Regions from separate parts of the Homo sapiens genome. Here region 2 is linked to region 1. The links are contacts of gene promoters, found by promoter capture Hi-C in blood cells and fetal thymus (Javierre and others, 2016). All regions are on one chromosome and are shown on one strand. The core of a region is centred on a gene start or on the middle of the fragment in contact, and the rest is flanking DNA. Distances in the headings are between cores, read along the strand shown. Region 1 holds the start of GLUD1 (glutamate dehydrogenase 1). Region 2 overlaps MXI1 (MAX interactor 1, dimerization protein).

Region 1 (3,970 bases), core at 29-2,528:
TAGCCAGGACCAGTACACACCCCCAGAGCTATTTCATTCCATTGGCTGGCTGGCCATCCGCAGCCTACAACCTGTAAATTTACTGTCAGGACGCCAGGTGTTTATTTGTCAGAGATATTACATTGCTTGTGATTTTTTTGTGTTTTTCCTTTTTTTTGGTATAAAACAGAACTTGTCAGAATGGGAAAATTACTTAATTGAAACGATTAACGCGTGATTAGTAAATTCCTTTGGTTAATAAAACTGTCTAGATTTCAAACTTAGAAGCCAAGTCATTTTCTATGTTCGGATATCATCTGTCACTATTGGAACAGGAGTGAACAAATACCAGAAAATAATTTGACAGCTTGCATTTAGGGGAGACTCACAAAAGCCCAAGAACACTGACGAGGCATTATCACACGGGCAGGTCATTCCCTTTCCTAGAAGTGCATTTCGGCAGGACCCGCCGTGTGTGACACAGACACCGGGACCAAAAGGAGACCGGTGCAGCGTCTACTCTGCATGCAAGATCAGCATATACAGAGGCCCGGGGTGACGGCGCGGGGGAGGGGGCAGGCCAATCGCATGATGATTTTAAGGCGGAAAAATCACCATCCACAGAGCCGGCCACATCCGAGGCGGGGTGACCCGGGCGGGGACCCGGCCCGCTCCAGCTGGGCTGGGCTGGGCTGAGCAGCGGCCCCGCACCGGCAGGAGGCCGGAGGGGAGGGCCGCAGGGGAGGCAGGGAGGGCGGGACGGGGCCCGGCCGACGCTCACCTCCCTTGCAGGGCGTGCGGTGCTGGCTGTGCTGGGCCCGGTAGCCTTCGATGACCTCCCAGGAGCCGTCGTCGCGCCGGATGGGGAAGGAGAGACTCAGCACATGGTTGCAGGGCTTGATGATCCGCAGGATGCCGCGCACCCGGTTCCGCTTCTGCTCCTCGCTCTCCCGGGTCCTCAGGTCCTCCACCAGCTTGTCCTCCACGATGCTGGCGCCGCGATCGAAGAAGCCCTCCACCATCTTGAAGAAGTTGGGGTCGTCCTCGCGGTCGGCCACCGCCTCGCTGTAGTGGCGCCGGGCGGCCAATGCCAGCCCCGGCTGCGGGGCGGCGGCGGGCTGTCCCCGGGCCCAGCCCAGCAACGCGGCCGAGTCGGCGGACGCCGAGCCCAGGGCAGCGGGCCCGGCCCGGGACAGCAACAGCGCTTCGCCCAGGTAGCGGTACATGGCCACAAGCGGAGGGGAGGTGCGTGATGGTCGCGAAACAGGCGCGCTTTCTCAGACTCCCCGCGACTAGGGAGGAAGGGTCCCGCGCGGGTTGCCCTTTTAAGCCGCAGCTTCCTGCTTGCCCGGCTGTCCCCTCCCCTCGGGCGCTCGCCACCTAACGGGGAGGACGGACTTCGGGGACAGGGCGCCGCCCAGGGCGCCGGGCCTCCGCCTCCGCCGCGGCCTCCCCGGGCCTCGCTGGCGGCAGCGCGCGCCGGCGGGGCGTCGGGGGCGCGCAGGCGCGGGCGGGCTCGGCGCGCACGCTCGCGCGCCAGTGGGGAAGGGAGGGGAGGGGAGAGGAAGGGCGGGGAGGAGAGTGGAGGGGAACGGACGGGAGGGGCAGGGAGGGGAAGGTCGGGGCGGGTCGGGGCGGGTCGGGGCGGGCCCACGGGCGGCCGGATTTGCCCGGAGGCCGCACCCGCCTCCGGCGGGGCTCTCAGGTATGTGCGCCGCGGGGGTCCCTCAGGGGGGTTGGGGGTAGCCCAGGGAGGTCGGGGTCGGGGGCTGGCCTCTGTAGGGCGCTCAGAGGCCGAGTCCCCCCGAGCGCCGCGTGGGTGAGGCTTGGCGGTCTGGTCGGGGACCGGGTCATGTGAGTCACGGGCGCCCCTCCTTTCCGCCCGCGCGCCCTCGGAACGGGCGGCCCACCCTGGCCTGTCCTCTGGCGGCCTCAGGCCGGGGCCGGGCGTGCAGGGGCTGACACGTGGGCAGGAAAGCGAGGCAGAGCCGCCGCCGCGTAAGGCCGGGCTGAGGGCTCGGCGTCACCAGCCAGGGCTGCAGAGAGCGGCGTGGCACCCGGAGTTGGATTATGCGTGGCTGGCGTGAGCTGGAAGGGAGTCACTCGCCCACAAGCTCTCACCACGCGAGCTTTTATTGTCCCGTTCAACTGCTCCGCAGTGTGGAGATCGCATAGTTACGCACGTCGTGGTTGTGTCGCCCCACAGTACTGACTGCTTCACCTTTGCAGACAGAGGCTCCGGCCCGGCGCGGTGGCTCACGCCTTTAGTCCTAGCACTTTGGGAGGTCGAGGCTGGAGGATGGCTTGAGCCCAGGAGTTCGAGGCTGCAGTGAGCTACGATAGCTCCACTGCACCCCAGCCTGGGCAACAGAGGGAGACCCTATCTCCCTCTGAAATAGTCTAAAATAAGGAAACTAGAAATGCGATAATGCCCCCAGGAAATTCTTTCTCAGGAATATATGTATTTGTTAAATGGTTCAGTATATGATTTATTTTTTATTTTATTTATTTATTTGAGATGGAATCTTGCTCTGTCGCCCAGGCGGGAGTGTAGTGGCACCATCTCGGCTCACTGCAGCTTCCACCTCCCTGGGTTCGTTCTAGCGATTCTCCTGCCTCAGCCTCGGGGTAGCTGGGATTACAGGCCCGCGCCACCACGCCCGGCTAATTTTTGCATTTTTAGTAGAGACGGGGTTTCGCTGTGCTGGCCAGGCTGGTCTCCAACGCCTGACCTCAAGTGATCCGCCCGCCTAGGCCTCCCAGAATGCTGGGATTACAGACGTGAGCCACCGCGCCTGGCCTCAGTATATGATTTATAAGCTTTATGCTGTATGAGGGTTCAGTTATGTATTTATACATACTTGATAGGAAATGCTAAAGTTCACATTCCTATGGATAGCTTTTGGTGCTTTTCAAACTAACGAGGCTGGCACGGTGGCTCACGCCTGTAATCCCAGCACTTTGGGGGCCAAAGCAGGCTGATCGCTTGAGGCCAGGAGTTCAAGACCAGCCTGGGCTCGTCTCTATAAAAAGAAAATAAAAAATAAAGCTCTAATGACAGTCATTAAAACTAGCTGCCAAACACCACATTACTAGCGTTAGCGGTCTCAGTGTACTTGGGTGGTTTTAAAATGACACCCATTGGACCTGCAAAACGATGGTGCTTCCCGATATGTTCATGTTATTCATCTTTTAGAATATGGAAGAGAAAGTTCTTAGTTCTCGAAATATTGTGTAAAATATAAGGTGACAACCTGGATCTGTTAAATGACATTCATCTAAGTGTACTCTCAAAGTCAAAATTATCTTTTCATACAGGTGGAACTTATATTTTACCTTACTTGCTAAATAAGTCATTGTCATTAATTGTATTTGCACTGTGTTTTTCAGTGAAAAATGTACTCTGACCTGAATCCTGAATTTTCCTTGATGGTCAAAAGATTAAGGTATCAAATTTCCTTTTTTCTGGATGTATTATCGTTTTACTCTCTTACATTGCAATCCCCCACTCCTGCAAAAAACCCACGGAGTTTCAGAATAAAATGATTAGCATCAGTAAACATGGAAATATTTTTCTTTTTGGATTAAATTATTTGTTTATGTTCTGAGGAAAAATCTTTAAAAGCTTAGTTTTATTGTTTTTGTTGTTCTTTATAACCTTAGCCTTCAGAAAAATAAATGTTTAACTTTGCTTCTTCTGTGACTTGTTCACCTGAATTCAAGAAGGTGGAATTGGGCCTAAGGAGGTGGCTCACGCCTGTAATCCCAGCACTTTAGGAGGCTAAAGTGGGCGGATCACTTGAGGTCAGGAGTTCGAGACCAGCCTGGGCAACACAGTGAAACCTTGTCTCTACTAAAAATACAAAAATAAGCCAAGCGTGGTGGGGGGCCTACAAAAATTAGCCAGGCGTGGTGGCGGGGAGGGGGTTGGGCAGTGCTTGTAGTTCCAGCTACTTGGGAGAACCACTTGAACCAGGGAGAGAGGTTGCAG
Region 2 (4,499 bases), core at 1,565-4,064, about 23 Mb after region 1:
TGGCCCCTTCCTCTCTCCCCATCTCGCCTCCCTGAAGAAAAGATACAACACATCAGCCTCCATTGTTTATGAATCTGCAATAAATCACTTGGAAATTGTCACTAAGTAAACTGTGCTGAGAAAGGACCCTTAAGAATTGAGGGCTTTGCCTGCTTCCTTCAGAAGGCAGATTGTCCCCATCCGTGGCTGTGATCGTTATAGGCCTGGGGTATTCTGGGGGACTTTCTCCATTTTCAAATGACTCCCTTGAGAGAGAGATATACTTTAGGGAGAGGACAGAACAGAGACTATGGGTAGGATTCCAGGTTCTTATGTCAGTAGACTTTGGAAGCCTTGCTTTTCCTGTTTCCCCATCTGCATTTGTAGTGCAAACTAGTTCATCGGAACAAAAGAAAGGCTATGGCTGCCTCTGGGTTCCTCCGGGCTGAGACTGTTGCTGAGGGATGGTTTGTGGGTAGCATTACTTTCCTGTGGATAGAGCCCTAAGCTTTGTGCTGGAGAGGCCCTTATAGCTGATGTCCAAGGAAGGACTCCAGGAGGCAGCCAGCGCAGGGAGAAGGAAGTGGCACTTCAATTGCTTTTAGAAAAGGCTGGAGATTTCTGTACATGAACCAGCCCTTAATACTGCCCACCATGATCATCATCTCTCCCCTTCTTCAATGCAGGTGGCCTTTTGGTGAGTCTCGCTCTACTTTCCATGTCCTCATCTCCCTCTTGGCCATGGCTCTAGAAGAAGGGCTCTAGGTTAGTTCACCTGGAGGTCAACTGTGAAAGGCCATGCATAGGCCCCAGGCCTCTTGCATGTAGCCATCTCTTCCTAACCAGCTATGGTTCTGTGACCTCTGGAATTAAAGCCATCTTGAATTCATGTATATTTTCAGTTTGTACTACTTTTCTTGATTGCTTGTCACACAAGTTTACCTCCTATTGAGAAAAGTAGAGTTGTATTTGTCCTGGCCAGGGACACTTTGGGAGGCTGAGGTGGGCGAGTCACGAGGTCAGGAGTTTGAGACCAGTGTGGCCAACATGGTGAAACCCTGTCTCTACGAAAATCAAAAAATTAGCTGGGCGTGGTGGCAGGCGCCTGTAACCCCAGCTACTTGGGAGGCTGTGTCAGGAGAACCCGGGAGGTGGAGGTTGCAATGAGCCGAGATCGCGCCACTGCACTCCAGCTGGGGTGACAGAGTAAGACTCCGTCTCAAAAAATAAATAAATAAATAAATAAAAAATAAATAAATTCTACCCTCAACTAACAGATGTTCTAAATGAATGGTATTTTCTTTAAAATAATCCAGTCCCACCCCTACCCAACATGGCCCTTGTTGAGGGTGAAGGGAGGTTGTTACCAACACCCAGTGGGAAAGTCCAGATCCAAAATGACCTGGGAAAGTCCAGATCCAAAACGACCTAGTCAAGAGCTAAAAGAACAGTCCCTTTTTGAAAGCCTTTACAAAAAAAAAAAAAAGTTCTTCTGTGGCTTGCGAACACCTCTCATTTTGGGTCTGCTTGCATTTGATGGAACGTCTATTTGGTCTTAAATGTGGTGCCAAGTGTAATATTTAAAAGGACTGGCAGAATTTTGCAGCTTGTGACCTCACTGGAGATTTTGTTCACTTTACCAAAAAAAAAGAAAAGAAAAAAGAAAACAAAAGGTATGAGGGAAAGGTAAGAAAACAAAAGGTATGAGGGAAAGGTATATTAAAATGCAGCATGAAGCCGATAACATTTTTAAGAGGGTAAGATTTCCATCTCAAGATGGTATTTTCTGCAGGAGCCAATGGAATGACCACGGGAGGGGGAAACTCCCCCCTCACCAGGAGCTTCCTGTTATTTTGGATGTGATGTCAAGCAGCAGGTTAATATAATTGGGGTGGAAAAAAGTTATGGGTATGTTTGCACGGTTCCCAGCTTGTTCCTAGAGCATTCAAGTACGATTCTCTTGTTCTTCCTCTCCCTAGATCCCTTGTTCCCAACTGGGGGACAGGGGAGGGATTTTGTGCCCCAGGAGATATTTGGCAATGTCTAGAGGCATTTTTGGTTGTCACACCTGAGGGGTGGTGGTGTGCTACTGGCATCTAGTGGGTAGAGGCCAGGGATGCTCCTAAACATCCTGCAAAGCACGGAACAGAGCTCCTGCTCCAAGGAGGAATTACCCAGATCAAAATGTCAATGATGCTAAAGTTGAGAAACCCTGGTCTAGACTTTGAGGATTTTTTAGGTGGAGGACTTAGAAAGAGAGTGGCCATGAATGAGCAGTCAGTGGCTTTTTTTTTTTTTTTTTTTCTTTGAGACTGAGTCTTGCTCTGTTGCCCAGGCTGGAGGCCGGAGTGCAGTGGCGTGATCTCGGCTCACTGCAACCTCCGCCTCCCGGGTTCAAGCGATTCTCGTGCCTCAGCCTCCCGAGTAGCTTGGATTACAGGCACCCGCCACCATGCCCGGCTAATTTTTGTATTTTTAGTAGAGACAGGGTTTCACCATGTTGGCAAAGCTGGTCTCGAACTCCTGACCTCAGGTGATCCGCCCACCTCAGCCTCCCAAAGTGCTGGGATTACAGGCGTGAGCCACTGTGCCCGGCCAGTGGTAGTCTTTTAATGTGGTCTCCGCTCTCTAACTTCCTTTTTAGCTACAGAGGAGAGCATAAGAGAAAACATCATCATCGCTTCTATTTACTGAGTGCCTAGTATATACTAAGTGCTGGAATTATTATATTTAATCTTTGCAAAAAGCACTACTGAATACACAAACCTCGAGAGCAGGTCTGCGTCCGTTTCTCTCTTACTATGCAAACTAAGTCTAGTACAGTGCCTGGCACATGGCACGCCCTCAACGCCGTGGATATGATCATATCCATTTTATACATAAGGAAAATGAGGCTGGAAGAGTTCACACAGGTCTCAGTGTAAGTAGCAGAGTCAGGATTTGAACCAAACTGTTCCGCACCAGGGAGAATTTTCTGGCGTCTAAAAGCACTAGTGAGGAGAGGAGAAAGTTTTAAAAAGTAAGATTAAAGAAAAAAGTAACTACTTGTCTGTGTGGAAGCTGAGGTGGAAGAAGGGCTTCATGGAAACCCTCTCTGATGAAATCATCCCTCGTTTTTGAACAGCAATTTTGGCTTTTCCAGTTTCTGTGTGCGCTGTTGGTGCAGGTGTGTTACTCTTCTTATTTTGCAGATGAGCAAACTGAGGCACATAAGTTACATGAGAAAGTAGGAGATAGAGGACTGGAACATGATACTTCGAATAAAGAATGTCTCAGCCCCTGGGCAACCGCAGGGAGTCGCTGAGAAACAAGTTTCCCCGGGAGTAGACTCCCAGCTCGCTCAAATCCTTCCCATTCCACATCGTGTCTGGAGGGAGGAAAAAAAAATTCTTCCCTCCCAGAAGCAAAGTCCCGCAACTTCTTAGTCTTCCCTAGAGACAGGAAAGGAAACCCAGCGGGACTACACCTTCCGACGACCTTTGCGAATCTTGCGGAACGCAGGCGCCCTGAAACGGCGTGTGCACTACGATTCCCGGCAGCCGCGGGCGGGTGCGGGACTACATTTCCCAGGGGGCAGAGGCAGGGGCGGGAGGGGGCGGGCCCCGGCGCTGCTCCCGCCCCTCCCCCGTGCTCGCGGGGAGAGGTAAACAAACCACGCGCGGGCTGCCCGCGGCACGGCGGGCGCGGCTGGCGCGGCTGGGGCGGCAGGGGCGGCGGAGAGCGCGCCGAGCCGCGGCCGAGCTGGCCCGCCCGCCCGTCGCACATGTTCCGGAACGGCGCCCGGCCGTAGCCGCCTGCGGCGCCTCCTGTCGGCCCGAGAAGGGAGTGCGGAGAGGCGCCGGTCGCCACCCGCGGTGCCCATGGAGCGGGTGAAGATGATCAACGTGCAGCGTCTGCTGGAGGCTGCCGAGTTTTTGGAGCGCCGGGAGCGAGGTAATGGCTGGGCGCCGCTGCGTGAGCCCGAGCGCTACTAATCTTTTTCGGCAGTGCGGTGCGGCCGGTAAGGGAGGGCACGCGTGTGAGGTGCGCGCATGAGGTGAGGTGTGCGCGCATGTGAGGGGAGGGGTGTGCGCGCGTGAGGGTAGAGGAGCGCGCGTGTGTGGGGAGGGGCGTGTGGGGAGGGGAGCGCGCGTGAGGGGAGGGGCGTGTGAGGGAGGGGTGCGCACGCGTGAGGGGAGCGCGCGTGTGAGGGGAGGGGCGTGTGAGGGAGGGGTGCGCGCGTGTGAGGGGAGGGGCGTGTGAGGGAGGGGACGCGCGTGTGAGGAGGGGCGTGTGGGTAGGGGAGCAGGCGTGTAAGGGGGGCGTGTGAGGAGCGCGCGCGTGAGGGGAGGGGCGAGTGAAGGAGGGGAGCGCGCTTGTGATGGGAGGGGCATGTGGGGAAGGGAGCGCGCGTGTGGGAGGGGCGCACGCGTGAGGGGAGGGGCGTATGAGGGAAGGGGAGCGCGCGTGAGGGGAGGGGCGTGCACATGTGAGGGGAGGAGTGTGTGAGGGGAGGGGAGCATGTGAGGGGAGGGGAGCTC

Evidence for each region. The method cuts DNA at HindIII sites, captures the fragments that hold promoters and counts their contacts. A CHiCAGO score of 5 or more calls a contact.
Region 2: a fragment that was not itself captured here is called in contact with the fragment with the promoter of GLUD1 in region 1 in 1 of 17 cell types (activated CD4 T cells); the score reaches 5.7 in activated CD4 T cells.

Annotation. Positions count from the first base shown.
Region 1 is chr10:87,093,565-87,097,534 of GRCh38, forward strand. GLUD1 (glutamate dehydrogenase 1) reads right to left here and starts at 1,279. Exons shown (of 13, transcript NM_005271.5): 1 at 761-1,279. The coding sequence starts at 1,205. SHLD2 (shieldin complex subunit 2) reads left to right here and starts at 1,642. Exons shown (of 10, transcript NM_001330112.2): 1 at 1,642-1,684; 2 at 3,370-3,425. RefSeq lists silencers at 513-852, 1,053-1,192, 1,313-2,012, 1,933-2,190 and an enhancer at 2,233-2,292. The HindIII fragment of the contact is 4,292 bases long and covers 1-2,797 here.
Region 2 is chr10:110,222,372-110,226,870 of GRCh38, forward strand. All of the region lies in intron 1 of MXI1 (MAX interactor 1, dimerization protein), which reads left to right. Among named protein-coding and RNA genes, the nearest start is that of MXI1, 17 kb to the left of the region's middle. RefSeq lists enhancers at 3,374-3,433, 4,034-4,103 and a silencer at 3,544-3,703. The HindIII fragment of the contact is 4,658 bases long and covers 486-4,499 here.